Regions from separate parts of the Homo sapiens genome. Here region 1 is linked to region 2. Evidence: promoter capture Hi-C in human tissues and cell types (Jung and others, 2019). All regions are on one chromosome and are shown on one strand. Each heading gives the region's core, a stretch centred on a gene start or on the middle of the fragment in contact. The rest is flanking DNA. Distances are from core to core; before and after follow the strand shown.

Region 1 (2,700 bases), core at 152-2,651, 250 kb before region 2:
CCTCCGCCTCCCAGGTTCAAGCAATCCTGCCTCAGCCTCCCAAGTAGCTGGGATTACAGGCACCTGCCACCATGCCTGGCTAATTTTTTTGTATTTTTAGTAGCGACAGGGTTTCGCCATGTTGGCCAGGCTGGTCTCAAACTCCTGACCTCAGGTCATCCACCCGCCTTGGCCTCCCAGAGTGCTGGGATTAAGGTGTGAGCCACCGCTTCCAGCCTTACTGTGTTTTAAAATCTCTATTTTCTTCTCCTTCAGCCATGAGGAAATAGTCTGACGGGCATAAGCCCACGGGTGGGCTGGCCCAGGGCCACTGGGGATTTTGTACTTCCATGCCATGTCTCTCCCAGGCCCCCAGCTGTGGGCATGGGAGGCTGGCCCTGGGCCCTTCAGAGCTGAGCGGGGAGCGAGAGCTGTTGTGTTTGGGTGGCCAAGCCCTTGGTAGCACTGACCTGATTCACTGTGCGATGCTCTCACGGCATCCATTCTCTCATGTTTAGAGAACACCTGTGAATTGCCAGGCCCTGGAGTTCATGGAGAATGGAGAAGGGCTCCCTGCATCGGGGAGACTGCTGCAGCAGGGGAGGTGGGCCACCCCAGCGGAACGGGTAGAGAAGCTTGGAGTGCCCTGGTGGGTCGAGTCCTGAGAGGGGAGAGAAGGTGTCAATTGGCAGAGCAGCTCTGGGGGTGTCTGGAGGAGATTGTTCAGACAGAGGCAGCAGCCTGTTCCCCACACAGAGAGTGATAAGCAGGGTGGCCTGCTGGGGTAGAGGTGGGAGGGGCCCTTGGAAGCTGAATCTATGGTTGGAAGTGAGATGAGGGCTTCTGAAAGGTGCTGAAGGGAGATGGCTGTGCCGGGGCTGTGAGACGATCACTCTGGCTGCTGGGCTCGGAGCTGGAAAAGGAGACTAGGGTAGAGAGTAGAGATGGCTGTGCAGTAGTGAGGGGGTTGAGTGTGTGGTGTGATCGAGAGAAGAGGCAGGCAGACTCCAGGGTGTCCAGGCCAGGCTGGAAGGCTGGGGATCTGTCGGCGATGTGCTAGTGCAGAGGCACCACCCGGGGTGAGCGCATTGCTTGGGAGAGGCACATGGTACAGATGGTGTTGGGGTGGTGCTTGAGGCCTGGTGAGAGGCCGAGTTGTCCATCCTGGAGGGGATGGCTGAGGAGAACCCCACCTTGGGGGAATGAGGTGGAGAGCACTGGGAGGCAGGAGCTGGGGAGGAGGGGCAGGAGCATAGCGCCCTGGAAGGCAGGCAAGAAAGGAGCTCCCTGGTGAGTCAGGAGAGGAGGCTTTGCCTTCAGCAGCTCAGGGGTGTTGGGAGCTTTGATGAGCCTGGCTGAGTAGTAGATAAGCGGCTGCCGAGAGTGAGCTCACAGAGGAGAATGGGGGGTGAGCTCACAGAGGAGAATGGGGGGTGAGCTCACATCAGCAAGCTGCATGACTCTTTCGGGGGGTTTCACTGCCAGGGAGAGCAAAGGACAGTCACCAGTATGGGAAGTGGGATTGAGAAGTTTTCTTGTTTGGGTTTTTATTAACGTAAGGGAAATACTGACATGGGCATGTACTGCTTCCTGGTGTCCAGCAAAGGAGCTAATTGGCACACAGAGAGGAAGGGGCATGGTCCGTGTGTCAGGGACAGCTTTGGGGCATCTGGAGACAGGTCAGTACAATGAGGATGGGAGGCAGAGGTGGGTGGAGCTGGCAGGAGCGATGGGATGCAGGTTTGGGGATCAGCTTGCTCACAGGAAGCCACAGGGTCAGCTGAAGGGGGAGGCTGGAGTGGAGACCACCTTTTAGACCAGGAACTTGTGAAGGGGGTGTTGTCCAGGTAGGAGGGAGAGGCTGGCAGCAGGAGGGTCTCAAATCTAAAGATCCACATGCATCAGACAGCTCGAAGTCTATTTATTTTTGAGATGGAGTCTCGCTCTGTCACCTAGGGTGATGTGCAATGGCACGATCTTGGCTCACTGCAATCTCCGCCTCCCTGGTTCAAGCAGTTCTCCTGCCACAGCTTCCCAGGTACTTGGGATTACAGGCGCCCACCACCACGCCCAGCTAATTTCTTTTTTGTATTTTTAGTAGAGAGGGGTTTTGCCATGTTGGCCAGGCTGGTCTCAAACTCTTGACCTTAAGTAATCCACCTGCCTTGCCTCCCAAAGTGCTAGAACTACAGGCGTGAGCCACCACGCTAAACAGTAATGCATGCAGTCTATGCTGTGTGCACCTGTGGCCCCAGGTACTCAGTAGGCTGAGGCAGGAGGATCGCTTGAGCCCAGGAGTTCGAGGCTGCAGTGAGCTTTGATTGCACCACTACACTCCTGCCTGGGCAACATAGTGAGACCCTGTCTCTAAATAAATAAATATGGAACATTTTAAATATGAAATGAAATGTATGTTTATTATGAAAAAATTAAATATTGTAGATTGGTAAGAAGAAAATGGACGCCCCCTAGCACCCTTTGTGATATGGATAGGCTTTGTGTCCACACCCACACCTCATCTTGACTCACAATCCCCAGGTGTCAAGGAGAGATGAGGTGGAGATAATTGAATCATGGGGGTGGTTCCCCCATCCTGTTCTCAGTGATAGTGAGTGCATTCTCACAAGATGTGTTAGATTTATAAGGGGCTCTTCCCCCTTTGCTCGGCACTTCTCTTTCCTGCCACCTTGTGAAGAAGGTGCCTTGCTTCCCCTTCCCCTC
Region 2 (2,700 bases), core at 201-2,700:
CCGTTTCACAGAGCAGAGTTGAAGTGTTGGGTGTTTAAACGCTGTGCCCAGGGCTGTCCAGCCAGGGAGTGGAATCTGGTCCTGGCCCAGAAGGCAGCAGCCCCACCCAGGCCACCTGCTCCAGGTCCCCGGGCTCCACAGACTTTCACATCTACTGCAGAGGCGCAAGGACGTTCCCCAGCATCAAAGCCCTCAGACCCTGGTGCCAGCCACGTCGTCACAGAACTTGTAGACCAGAGGATGCCCTGCGGATAGAGGGCCTGCCCTGGGCCTGCGCCAGGCTGGGCATATTGCTGAGGTCCCTGCTCTGTGCTGGCAAAATCCAGACCTCAGGAGAGGGGCAGGCAGGCTCTGAGAGGTTGCGGCTGCCCAGGGCCTGCAGCTGGGAGGAGCGGAGACAGACCCCCCCTCCCCTGGGACACAGTTGCTCTGCACCACACAGCTCCGCTCCTGGCGTCCCCTGGCTTTGCCGGGGGCGGCCGACCCAGCTGGCCAGGCCCCCTCCCCCTGCCCCACAGGTGGCCCTGAGCTGCTGAGGATAAGGCATGCTGGGCGATCTCTGCTGATTAGAGTCGCCCTCCGCTGTGGGCTAGGGGCCCCTATTTTGCTCCTGAGATCCCAGTCGGCCCATAGAAGCCCTCACAGGCTCTCCCGGGGGTCCAAGGAGTCCCAGGAGGCCCCCGTTCACCCCGGGTTTGCCTTCTCCCTCCTGTAATTTGCTTTTCATATGCGTGAAGGGGAACTCAGCAGGAGCAGAAGATGATGTGGCCTCGTGGGAGCGTGGGAGAGCTGGGACGGGGTGGTGGGGAGGAGCGGGGACCCAGGGACAGGGGCTCTGGGTCCAACCACCAGGCCTTTTGCACTTCGTGCTCTCTGTAGCCTCAGCTTCCCCCGAGGGTCAGGAACTCCAGGCAGGGGCATGGGGCAGCTCAGAAACCTTCCTGAGCCCCTTCCCCTGGCAAGAGGCAAACCAAGCAGGTGAGGGCTGGGCCCTGTTCTCAGAGCTGGCATCCCAGCCCTGGCCAGATCCAGGCTGAGGGCGGCCCAGCCCCCTGTTCTGCCTGGTGCAGAGGACACGGCTTCCCTGGCCGGAGCCCCCGCCCCCTCCTCTCCTTTCTTGGCGTCTGCCCCTGGGCGTGCCCTACCATTAAGCCCTTGTTGGTTCCACAAGCTGGGGGCACCCCTTCCTCCCTTCCTCCGGGCAGCCATTGGCAATGGCTGGCGGCTCGGGACAGGGCCCGTATTCTCTGAAAATGATGGCTGGGCTGGAACCCGGGATCGATTCTCAGACCTGCGTCATGTGGAGTCCCGGATGCTTGTTACGAATTCGGACCCTGGCCTGTGCCTGCTCCCTGGTACCTCTGAACAGGGCTTTCTGCCCTGGGGGTGTGAAGAGGGCCAAGTCCACTCCCCGACTGGGGTCACGCCTGCCTCCTGTCAGGACTGTGAACACTGCGTCCCCATCAGCTCAAAGAATACGCATGGGGACAAGCCTGGGGGGCCGTCTGAGAGTCCCCCAACCCTGGATCCCCACGGCAGCCCCCACTGTTGGGTTTTTCAGTGGCTGGTGTGCCCTGGGCTGGTCACCTCTGCATTTTGCTCTGCTGGGAGTTTGCTCCTGGCCCTCCAACAGCGCCTCCTCTGTGAGGAGGAACTCCTGTTCCCGTGGCTCTGCTGGCTCTGGAGGCTGGAGTTCCCGTGCTGGGCCCTCCTGGGCGGGTTCTCTCTTGCTGCCGCCAGTACCCTGCCCCTCTCGTCCTCCTGGGTAGCCTGGGAGGAATGGCAGAAGAAAGCAGTGAAGCCAGGTAGCAGTAGCCCGGCCACCCCACCAGGCTCTGCTGTAGGCTGGGCTCTCAAGGCAGCTGCTCCAGGAGGGGCCCCCTAGGAAGGGACTGCCACACTCCTGGGAGCGTTCCTGGCCCCCTCCAGTGCAAATGACCCTGGGCCCCAAGGCTCCGAACACCCGCCCCTCTGCTCCAGGTAAGAGGGAGATGTGGGTGGTGCCTGGACTGTTGTGTGCTTAGGTGGGGGAGTGGAGCCTTCAGGTCTCAGGAACCCACAAATGCTTGTTGAGCTGATGAACCCTGCAGAGATGAGAAGCTTAGGCCCAGAGAGCTGATGCCACCTGCCTGGGGCCACAAAGTCCACTGGGCAGAGGAGGGTGGGAACCCCAGTCCTTGGCCCCACTGTCAAAGCGGGTGCTTCCCAGGGAGAGCAGAGCCTGGGGTCAGTGCGGAGGACACTGGATCCCCAGTTCCGGGCTGGGGAGAGGCAGCTGGTGTTTCAGTGCTGCAGAGAGGGCCAGGCCGGCCTCAGACACCCTCCCCGAGGCCTGTGTGGGGGTGGAGGGCGGCCACACCTGTCCCACTGCAGGCCCTGGGGTGGGGTTTCCTGTCTGTGCTGGAGCCCGGTCAGGTTTCTCACTTCGCCCGGGGCAGGGGTGCAGGGCAGATGGCCCAGCCAGTCATGAGTCACCAGCCCAGCCTGCCGGCCTGCCTGACAAACGGGAAAGACCCGGCGGGTAGGAGCTGGGCTGGGAGCATCCTAGCTGGGCCTGGGCCAGCCCCTTCCTGGGAGAGGAGGGAAGCTGCCTCAGGCCTCCGGGGAGAAGCTCCCACCTGGCCCGGACCCTCCTCCCTCCTCCCTCCTCTGGCGGGGTGAGTGGGCTGAGGGCCTGCTGGGCCCCTGCATGGTGGGAAA

The links. Contacts are between HindIII fragments. The study calls those that stand out against the background at their distance.
Region 1: a contact is called between a fragment that was not itself captured here and the fragment with the promoter of TMEM105 in region 2, in 2 of the 25 tissues and cell types used here (aorta and spleen).

The regions. Positions count from the first base shown.
Region 1 is chr17:81,578,586-81,581,285 of GRCh38, reverse strand. The region is part of intron 12 of NPLOC4 (NPL4 homolog, ubiquitin recognition factor); the gene reads left to right. Among named protein-coding and RNA genes, the nearest start is that of FAAP100, 28 kb to the right of the region's middle. The HindIII fragment of the contact is 4,699 bases long and covers 1-2,700 here.
Region 2 is chr17:81,329,424-81,332,123 of GRCh38, reverse strand. TMEM105 (TMEM105 long non-coding RNA) reads left to right here and starts at 1,450. Exons shown (of 3, transcript NR_165247.1): 1 at 1,450-1,980. RefSeq lists enhancers at 1-253, 254-824, 1,968-2,537, 2,538-2,700. The HindIII fragment of the contact is 14,660 bases long and covers 1-2,700 here.